Linked DNA regions of Homo sapiens: regions 1 and 2 are each linked to region 3. The links are contacts of gene promoters, found by promoter capture Hi-C in human tissues and cell types (Jung and others, 2019). All regions are on one chromosome and are shown on one strand. Each heading gives the region's core, a stretch centred on a gene start or on the middle of the fragment in contact. The rest is flanking DNA. Distances are from core to core; before and after follow the strand shown. Region 1 overlaps WASF1 (WASP family member 1). Region 2 overlaps WASF1 (WASP family member 1). Region 3 holds the start of METTL24 (methyltransferase like 24).

What was found. The method cuts DNA at HindIII sites, captures the fragments that hold promoters and counts their contacts. A contact is called where the count stands out against the background at its distance.
Region 1: a contact is called between a fragment that was not itself captured here and the fragment with the promoter of METTL24 in region 3, in 2 of the 25 tissues and cell types used here (dorsolateral prefrontal cortex and hippocampus).
Region 2: a contact is called between a fragment that was not itself captured here and the fragment with the promoter of METTL24 in region 3, in 3 of the 25 tissues and cell types used here (H1 embryonic stem cells, dorsolateral prefrontal cortex and thymus).

Annotation. Positions count from the first base shown.
Region 1 is chr6:110,115,647-110,119,428 of GRCh38, reverse strand. The region is part of intron 4 of WASF1 (WASP family member 1); the gene reads left to right. Among named protein-coding and RNA genes, the nearest start is that of WASF1, 62 kb to the left of the region's middle. RefSeq lists enhancers at 2,394-2,937, 2,938-3,483. The HindIII fragment of the contact is 3,943 bases long and covers 556-3,782 here.
Region 2 is chr6:110,172,726-110,176,072 of GRCh38, reverse strand. The region is part of intron 2 of WASF1 (WASP family member 1); the gene reads left to right. Among named protein-coding and RNA genes, the nearest start is that of WASF1, 5.3 kb to the left of the region's middle. The HindIII fragment of the contact is 5,240 bases long and covers 1-3,347 here.
Region 3 is chr6:110,356,770-110,360,181 of GRCh38, reverse strand. It overlaps METTL24 (methyltransferase like 24), which reads left to right and starts at 1,833. Exons shown (of 5, transcript NM_001123364.3): 1 at 1,833-2,227. The coding sequence starts at 1,910. The HindIII fragment of the contact is 11,777 bases long and covers 1-3,412 here.

The DNA.
Region 1 (3,782 bases), core at 1,278-3,777, 240 kb after region 3:
AGTTTATTTGTGTAGAGGTGTTTATAGTATTCTCTGATGGTAGTTTGTATTTCTGGGGGATTGGCAGTGATATCCCCTTTATCATTTTTTATTGTGTCTATTTGATTCTTCTCTCTTTTCTTGTTTATTAGTCTTGCTAGCGGTCTATCTATTTTGTTGATCTTTTCAAAAAAACAGCTCCTGGTTTCACTGATTTTTTTGAAGGGTTTTTGTGTGTCTCCTTCAGTTCTGCTCTGATCTTAGTTATCTCTTGCCTTCTGCTAGCTTTCGAACATGTTTGCTCTTGCTTCTCTAGTTCTTTTAATTGTGATGTTAGGGTGTCAATTTTAGATCTTTCCTGCTTTCTCTTGTGAGTATTTAGTGCTATAAATTTCCCTCTACACACTGCTTTAAATGTGTCCCAGAGATTCTGGTACTTTGTGTCTTTGTTCTCATTGGTTTCAAAGAACATCTTTATTTCTGCCTTCATTTTGTTATTTACCCATTAGTCATTCAGGAGCAGGTTGTTCAGTTTCCATGTAGTTGTGCGGTTTTGAGTGAGTTTCTTAATCCTGAGTTCTAATTCAATTGCACTGTGATCTGAGGGACAGTTCGTTGTGATTTCTGTTCTTTTACATTTGCTGAGGAGTGTTTTACTACAATTATGTGGTCAGTTTTAAAATAAGTGTGATGTGATGCTGAGAAGAATGTATATTCTATTGATTTGGGGTGTGGAGTTCTGTAGATGTCTATTAGGTCTGCTTGGTCCAGAGCTGAGTTCAAGTCCTGGATATCTTTGTTAACCTTCTGTCTCTTTGATGTGTCTAATATTGACAGTGGGGTGTTAAAGTCTCCCGTTATTATTGTGCAGAAGTCTAAGTTTCTTTGTAGGTCTCTAAGGACTTGCTTTATGAATCTGGGTGTTCCTGTATTGGGTGCATATATATTTAGGATAGTCAGCTCTTCTTGTTGAATTGATCCCTTTACCATTATGTAGTAGCTGCCTTTGTCTCTTTTGATCTTTGTTGGTTTAAAGTCTGTTTTATCAGAGACTAGGATTGCAAACCCTGCTTTTTTTTTTTTTTTTTTTTTTTTTTTTTTTGCTTTCCGTTTGCTTGGTAGATCTTCCTCTTTCCCTTTATTTGGAGCCTATGTGCATCTTTGCATGTGAGCATGTGAGATGGGTTTCCTGAATACAGCACACTGATGGGTCTTGACTCTTTATCCAATTTGCCAGTCTGTGTCTTTTAATTGGAGCATTTAGCCCATTTACATTTAAGGTTAATATTGTTATGTTTTATTTTGATCCTGTCATTATCATGTTAGCTGGTTATTTTGCCTGTTAATTGATGCAGTTTCTTCCTAGCATCGATGTTCTTTACCATTTGGCATGTTTTGCAGTGGCTGGTACCGGTTGTTGCTTTCCATGTTTAGTGCTTCCTTCAGGAGTTCTTGTAAGGCAGGCCTTGTGGTGACAAAATCTCTCAGCATTTGCTTGTCTGTAAAGGATTTTATTTCTCCTTGGCTTATGAAGCTTAGTTTGGCTGGATATGAGATTCTGGGTTGAAAATTCTTTTCTTTAAGAATGTTGAATATTGGCCCCCACTCTCTTCTGGCTTGTAGGGTTTCTGCCGAGAGATCCGCTGTTAGTCTGATGGGCTTCCCTTTGTAGGTAACCCGACCTTTCTCTGTGGCTGCCCTTAACATTTTTTCCTTCATTTCAACCTTGGTGAATCTGACAATTATGTGTCTTGGGGTTGCTCTTCTTGAGGAATATCTTTGTGGTGTTATCTGTATTTCCTGAATTTGAATGCTGGCCTTCCTTGCTAGGTTAGGGAAGTTCTCCTAGATAATATCCTGACGAATGTTTTCTAACTTGGTTCCATTTTCCCCATCACTTTCTGGTACACCAGTCAAACATATATTTGGCCTTTTCATATAGTCCTATATTTCTTGGAGGCTTTGTTTGTTTCTTTTCACTCTTTTTTTATCTGATCTTTTCTTCTCGTTTTATTTCATTAATTTGATCTTCAATCACTGATATTCTTTCTTCCACTTGATCAAATCAGCTATTGAAGCTTGTGCATGCGTCACAAAGTTTTTGTGCCATGGTTTTCAGCTCCATCAGGTCATTTAAGGTCTTCTCTACATTTTATTCTAGTTAGCCATTTATCTAAGCTTTTTTCAAGGTTTTTAGCTTCCTTGCAATTGGTTAGAACATGCTCCTTTAGCTCAGAGAAGTTTGTTATTACCAACCTTGTGAAGCCTACTTCTATCAACTCATCAAACTCATTTTCCATCCAGTTTTTTTCCCTTGCTGGCAAGGAGCTGCAATCCTTTGGACGAGAAGAGGCGCTTTGTTTTTTTTTTCGAATTTTCAGCTTTTCTGCTCTGGTTTCTCCCCATCTTTGTGGTTTTATCTACCTTTGGTCTTCGATGTTGGTGACCTACAGAGGGGGTTTTGGTGTGGATGTCCCTTCTGTTTGTTAGTTTTCCTTCTAACAGTCAGACCCCTCAGCTACAGGTCTGTTGGAGTTTGCTTGAGGTCCACTCCAGACCCTGTTTGCCTGGGTATCACCACCAGAGGCTGCAGAACAGCAAATATTGCTGCCTGATCCTTCCTCTGGAAGCTTCATCCCAGAGGGGCACCCACCTGTTTGAGGTGTCTGTTGGCCCCTACTGGGAGGTGTTCCCCAGTCAGGCTACACGGGGGTCAGGGACCCACTTGAGGAGGCAGTCTGTCCGTTCTCGGAGTTCAGACGCTGTGCTGAGAGAACCACTGCTCTCTTCAGAGCTGTCAGACAAGGATGTTTAAGTCTGCAGAAGCTGTCTGCTGCTTTTTGTTCTACTACGTCCTTCCCCAAGAGGTGGAATTTATAGAGGGAATAGACCTTACTGAGCAGTTCAAGCTTACCGGCCTCTTTGTTTACACTTTGAGCTACTCAAGCCTCAGCAATGGTGGACACCCCTCCCCCGTCAAGCTGCAGCGTCACAGGTTGATCTCAGACTGCCGCACTAGCAGTGATCAAGGCTCTGTGGGCGTGGGACCCGCCGAGCCAGGCATGGGAGGGTATCTCCTGGTCTGCTGGTTGCTAAGACTGTGGGAAAAGCATATAGTATTTGATCAGGAGTGTACTGTTTCTCCAGGTAGAGTCTGTCACAGCTTCCCTTGGCTAGGAAAGGGAAATCCCCTGACCCCTTGTACTTCCTGGGTGAGGCAATGCCTCGCCCTGCTTCAGCTTGCCCTCTGTGGGCTGCACCCACTGTCCAACCAGTCCTAATGAGATGAACCAGGTACCTCAGTTGGAAATGCAGAAATCACCCGTCTTCTGCATCAGTTTCGCTGGGAGCTGCAGACCGGAGCTGTTCCTATTCAGCCGTCTTGGAAGTGACCCCCTCTTCTATGTCTTCTTTCTCATTGTCTGGTACTGGTTTGGAGGCACTCTTCTCCATCAAGTCATCTTCTGTTAATTCCTCTGGTGTGCTGTCTAATTGGGTTTTGAATTTCTCCAAGATCCATACCTTGCCACGCTTCATCCCCACCCTTTTTTCTGTATCCACTGTCTATTTCATTATTTCCTTGACTGGCACTGTTAAAAACCCTGTGAGGTCATGCAAAACATCTGGACACAGTTTTCTCAAATTTTATGAATTTGTTTTCTTGAGCTTGATGGTTTTCTTGGCTTTTTCAATAATAACTATGACATCTTTGATGGTATAATCCCTCCAAACTTTCATGATGTTCTCTGTTGGGATTCTCTTCCATAGTGTTGACAGTCTTCCACAGAATACCATGTGTAATG
Region 2 (3,347 bases), core at 766-3,265, 180 kb after region 3:
TTGTAAAATGGTTTGGAACTTGAGTCTTATTTTCTCAGAAACAGTATACTTAGTGGTTAGAGTCACAGACAGCCCACTAAAGCCTATTTAAATAATAAAATACCTGAATTATAGGATTATGTTAATACTAAAGAAATTATAAAATTATGTTAATAATTAGCATAAGTATATTAAAATACCTATAATAATTTGTATGACAGTCTTTCTATGGGAAAAATAAGTTTCAGATGTACCCTGAAATGCTAGGATCTGTAACTCTTGTGTTAGACATGACAACATTATTAGGAACTTGTTCTCTTTCACCCAGTGGACTTGAAGAGGAGGCTGTTTCTCAGTTCAGTGAGTGGCATAGGCTTACATTATCTGGGACAAGAAGTTAGGGCATGACAAAAATTAGAAGGAAATGCAGTCTTCTGCGTGACTTTACTTCTCAAGATGTTTGATTATAAAATGAAAAGGTAGAAGTAGATGACTTCGGAGATCTGTTTTAGCTACAAATAAAATTCTAAGATACTTCGAAGCTTGGTGTAACCCCCTTTTTTTCCTGAGAGTTCATTTTCCCTAAAGTTACCGCTTACGTCCCTCTTATGAGGACATTTCTTCTTTCTGGACCTACCTCTGAAAAAGAAAGTAGTCTTGATCCTTTCACACGTGCCTGTTCTCAGAAGCAAGATTTTTTAGTCTCTTAAAGGCGTTATTTTTGTGATGGGTTTTTTGTTTGTTTTAATTTTTAAAAATAAACTCCCAGCACTGTCAAGAAACAGGATTTTTCTTTTGGATTGTTTCCTTTGTTTCCTTATTTTGAGCTATTGGTAAAGTCAGGGTAGATTTTATTCATACTTTGAAGAAAGATCATATCCAGTCAGTCTCCATAGAATTTTTTTAAGGAAAAAATTTTGGAATGAGGTCATGAAGTGGGAGTATGAAGATATAAAGATGGATTATTGCCCCATAAAATACGGGGCATCTTGTATTTGTAGCAGCCTTACCTGGGGTGCTATGGAGCTTTGGTATGGATGTGATGGAGCTGAAGGCAGATTGAGAAAGTGAATCTGTGAACTCCTTGAGGACAGTTTTGTTGTAAGCGTTTGGTTGTTTTGTTTTGCTTTGCTTCATTTTTGTGTTCCCAGTGCCTGTTTTTGGTTTAAGCTAAATGGATTTTGAGTGTATGCAATTACTACAGAATAAAAGAGAAGTCATTCTGTTCCATGTGGAAAGATCAGGGTGCTGTGAGGGAAGAGGTCATGAAACAGCTATTTTTGTCATATGCATTGGAGTATTTAATAATTATTTGGAGATCAGTGATATTCAAAAATAATGTGTAACATGGTCCAAAAGGAAAAGAAGTGACATTGCTTGCTTGCTAGATGTACAAGATTCTGTATAGATGCTGTCACATTTATTATTTATCTTGTTTAATTGCTATCATAGCCCTATAAGGATTTAATTGAAGAAAAAGGTTAACTGAATTGAACAAGTTGTTTGTTCTGCCTAGCGGAAGCCCAGATTGTTTCAGAACTGCTTTATCTCCCCTTTTACTGATAAGTTTCTGTTGGAGCAGTCATTTTAATAACTTGATAATAACAATTCTGCCTGCCTGCTACTGTCCCCTCATTTGTAATTGGTTCATTTAGTGGGTCCCCCTTGTTAAACCAGTGATTCATAGTTCATAATCAGCACATAATTATTGAGGGCCAAGTAGGTGCTAAAAAGGACAGGTCTCTATTCTCTTGGAGTTAACAGTATAGTAAAAAACAGGTGTTGAACAAATACATTTGTACTTAGAAATTTTGGTGAATGCTGTAAAGGAAAAGAAGAGGGAACTGGATTTACACTGGGAGTCAGGGGAGGCTTCTTAGAGGCAAGATTAGTGGAAGTTAGCTAGGTGGAAAAGGAAGAGAATTCAAAGAACAGGTGAAACAGTTAAAGCTTAGTGTAAGAGGGATTGTGACTTGATATGAGGTTGCAGAGGTAAACAGAAGCCAGACTATGCAGAGGGCCTACGTGAGGTTTGGTTTAACGAGGTTAAGGATTTTAAGTCTATTGGGGAAGGCCATGAAGAGTTTTAATCGGGTTAATTACTGGATCAGATCTGTCTTTTGTAAAGATCACTTTGGCTTGGAAGGGGCCAGAGATACCAATCACAATTCTGTTCATTTCTGTGGTTTATTGGCCTGGTTTTAGACACTTTTTTACTAAGCCAAGTCACTCAGAACTTTTCCTGGGTCCTCCATGCCCAGAGGTTGAATAATTTGTTTTCTCTTCAGTTGCTGAAGCTGTGAGATACAAAACTCTGGAACTGTTAATGGCCTTGTTTCTTGCCCTGTGGGCTAGATAAGCCAGGGCTTCTAGAACAAAGAGTGCAAAGAAGCAGATGCACAGAGTCCTGACTGTATTTGAGTTCCTTTGTCCATGGTCCTGAGATTGGGTTCCAGAGACATCCTAGTTACCTTTGTCATAAGTCCTCCTTTTTGCGTAAACTGTTAGAATTGTATTTGTGGTACTTGTCAACCAGCAAACTGAGTCCTCTCATAGATCAAGTAATTTGCTCAAGGTCACATGGCTAATAGAAATGGAGGTGGAATTTGAGCACAGATATGTGTGATTTCAAAGTCCCATTTTTTTCCTACTCCCTTATGCTGCAAAGGTACCATTTCTTAAACTAAAGGTCCTAAAGAAATTCTAAGTAGGTGGGTTTTGGGTGTGATGACATCTGTTGGATGATGATGACAGCAAAGTTTTTTTGTTTTTTTGTTTTTTTAATTTGGTGTGCTTGATAGTAGTTAGTCCAGCATGTAGCCATTCTTTATTCCTAACCTAGCCAGGTCTACTCCAATAAAGTTACATTGACTAACTTATTTGAAAAGAAGAAAAGCTTATGTGTCAGGGCATGGAATAACTTGTTTGATTCCTTTACCAAAAAAGTCAAGTGTGTTATGTTTTCACCTTATGCTACAAAAGTAAGTTTGTTTTCTAGTTGTTTTAATAGGGACATCTTGCTAAATTTGTTAAATTTGCTAAATTTTTATAACATGCATGTGCTACAGGTTATGCCAGAGAATTGTGAAAGGGTTAAACGAAAAGGGAGGAACAGTGAAGCATTTTATATTTTAGTCGAGGATGAAGACTAGCACTCACTTCTTAAAATTATTTTTATAGATTTAGAGGGTACACGTACAGTTTAGTTACATGGATATATTGCATAGTGGCAAAGCCTGGCTTTTTAGTATAGTGTACATTGTACCCATTAAGTAATTTCTCACCCCTCACCCACCATCTATCCTTCCACTCTTCAGAGTCTCCATTATCTATTATTCCACTCTTTATGTCCATGTATACAAATTATT
Region 3 (3,412 bases), core at 584-3,083:
TTTATCAAGCACCCTACAAACTCTGTCTTAAAGAGCCTTATACAACTTAACAGAGTTCGTTTCTTGATGATTAATTGTTATTTTCTTGAAATTATTGGGTACTCTGAATTCCAGAGAATGCTGTATAAATTATTTGTAAATTTCCTTATACTTTATCTTTGCCCACTTTGGAATCAATGCTTACCTTTTGTTTTTCATGACAACATCCAGGATTTTCTTCCATGGTAAATAACAAAATAATTACTATTGAGACCCTTCTGTGAGCCAGTATTATTTGGGCATGAAACATATAATATTTTATGCAACATTTATAATCCTGCCATATATATAGATCTGTTTATTCATGGGAAAACGGAAACTCAGAGAGGTCCAGTACTTCGTTGAAAGTCTCATAGTGCTTGAACGGCAGGGTCCTGGTTCAAACACAGTTCAAGTAAATAGTCACAGGATGTGAGGCTGGCTCTCAGTTTGTGTAAGGAAAAACTCGTACTTGTTTAAATTTGTTAAAATAGAACCCATCTGCAATATCCCCTGGACTCATCTAAGAAAAAAGCAAAAGTCAATCCTAATGGAACGTTCAGGAGCCTGAGGATCTGGTGTGGCCAGGGGGTGGACTAGACTGGGTGGAGATATTTTGTTACATGTAGAGAAACAGCCCAAGTGCTTTGTTCACTAGCAGGGAATAAATTGGGTCTTTCTTAAGCCAGGAAGAGAAGAGGATTTTAGAGACGAGGGCTTCCTACGGAAAATACCCAACATTCAAAAGGGCAGGGGGGTAGGGCCCCATATTTGTTCTCTCTTGTCCATGCTGTAGGCTGTTACGGGGGAAGAGGATAGGTCTACAGGCGCAGTCTCCCATGGAAGCATGGAAAATGCAAGAGTAAAGCAAGGAAAAAAAGAAAAGTGACTACAGCTTAAAAAAATCTAAACCCAAACTCAAACCTAAAACCCAAACCCACCCCAAATGGGTTGTGGGAAAGGATTCTACTAACAATTGAAAATGGAACATCCACCACTGGACTTCAGGCTGTGAGAGTTCAGTCTGATTAATTAAGGTCAAGGTGGTGATGGAAATACCAGCTGGGGAGCATTTTGCCGAAAGATAAATTTGTCCCTCTGTATTTCTGCGAGACAGCAGGGAGGTGTGTGTTTGGAGCTAAATTAATTTGATTTACATCATGCCATGGTAACTTCTGTTCTCTCTCCCCCCTCCTCACCAACCCGCTGTCAGATGTCTTAGCTGGCTTTTTCCCTCTTCTTCTTCACCCCCACACATTTCATAACACGGAAAGAAAGCACGAATTGGCTTCAGGCAGAATTTAGACATAGAATAACTCTAATTTGATTATTCTGCATTGAGTGCTATTCTCTTCGCCCCCCAATCCCTTTCTTTCTTGAGAGAGAGAGAGAAGTTGTAAGCCCGGGCATAAGTGCTATTTATTTTTATATTGTGCTTAATGGTGCAAACTGCTTGACTGTTCCTTGTATGCTCACCTACCCTCCTCCTGTGTTTCTCCAACAACACTAATACCAGAAAATGAAGTTATGGCCCGGGATCCCGTTAGGAATGCGCTTTTTCTGGCCCTATGTCTTTCAGCTCCGTCAGGCTTTGGAGGCCGGGGCGGAGGGCACCTCTTGAGGGACCCTGTACAGCCGGGCCCTGGCACCTCCGGAGGGGCGGAGAGGGCCCCCTGTGACCGCGTTCGGCCCACCACCGTTCCAGCGGCGGGGCGCGCTCGGCAGGGCAGGATAAGGTTACGCCGGGGCTTCCTCGGTCGGGAGGGAGGGAGGCGGGTCCGAGCCCGCACCCCGGCCCGCGGGGGAGTTCCCACAGTTGGCCGCTCCGGCCTGTGGGGCTACATCCCTGCTGCCGGCCAGGCGCGGCCCGCGGGACCCCGAGTGTAGCGCCATGGCCCGGGAGAGGCCGCCCGGGAGGGGCTGCGGCGTCCTGCGCCGGTGTCTACTCGGGGCTGTGCTGTTGTTCGGCCTGCGGCTCTGCGCAGAGCTGCGGCGCGCCGGGCCCGGGTCCCCCACCCGCAGCGCCCCGCCGGGCCCGGCCTGGCGGCCACCTGGGCCGCACCTGCCGCCCGCGCCGGGCCAGCCGCGCGGCGCCAGCAGGAGGCAGGTGACCTACGTGCGCAGCGGTCGCCGGGCGCCGCCGGGGGGCGGCGGGAGCGGGACGCCGGAGCCTGGCTGCTGTGCCCCGCGCGGGCGCCCCCGCCGGAAGGTCAGTTGCAAAGCGGTCGGTCTTGGGCCTGGGACCAGAAGCCCCCTCCCGACCGCGCTACGGAGCCCGGCGCTCAGGTCCCGCAGGCCGCCTCGATGGGACCTCCGGAGGCTTCCGCTTCTTCTCTTCCCCCTGTGCTCTCTTAGGCGGCTCCACGGGTCGCATCTTTCAGTGCCCAGATAGACTGAAGTGCGGCCAAGCGGAGTTCATTCACTATTCAGCCAGTACTTGGGGGTCGCCGTGGCCGGGCGCCCTTCTAGGCTCCGCGCATCCCGTGAAGAAGGACGGAGCCCTGTTCTCACGGAGGATACACTTTAGTAGGGGAGTGTTTGCGTGATAGGCAGGGAAAGGGAAAGGGAAAGGAAGGCGTTGTGGCTGCCATTGATGTGCTGTGCTGCTCCCAGCCTTCTGCTTAAGGCCTGGACAGAGTTGGGTGGGTATCGCCGTGAATGGCCTGTCCACGCCACTGCCTTCATCTCGCTGAAGATCCACCAGCTGGCCGAATTTCCCTGGAGTCTCATTCCAGGCGTTGGCTGGGGGCTGGGAGGCTGGCGCCAGTTGAGAAGCCGAGCACCCAGCCCCACTTAATGAGAAGTTAATTGGATCCTCGAGGACCCAAGTAATAACCTGGGTTTGTCTTATAACTCTCGACCGTGTTGTGCCTCCTACCTCATTAACTTCTTGGCTTACACCTCACTGATTAGTCCATTTTTAGCCTCTGATTGTTAAGGTTTTGGGCTCATCTCCTTTTTGGAGCTCGGTAATTTGCGTCGTACATGGAAATGAAAAGAACTACAGGTATGAGCTCTCCTCATCCTTTTACCCATCAACTCCTGCTTCCAGCCTCAACCACGTTCTCCAAAGCAACTACTTTCCGTTGCCCGGCTGTTCCTCGTTTCTTTTAGACATCCACCCCAACCTCCACCCCGCTTCCCATCACCGGTCCTGGAGGGGAGGGAACAACTCTTCCTTTGCCTCGCTGCTGTCTTCGGCTGCCCAGTGCTAGCCTACTTTTCAGCACCACAACCCAGCACTCCTGCCGGGCTTCACTTCCTCGCTTCCTTCGGGCCTCGCCCTCCGTTTTTCCACACCACTGCTGTTCCTTGCTGGGCCATCGTGCTAACTTCCTGGATAAACTGAAATACCTTTTTCTATCTCGCAAACCTCACCTCCTGTGTAAAGTCT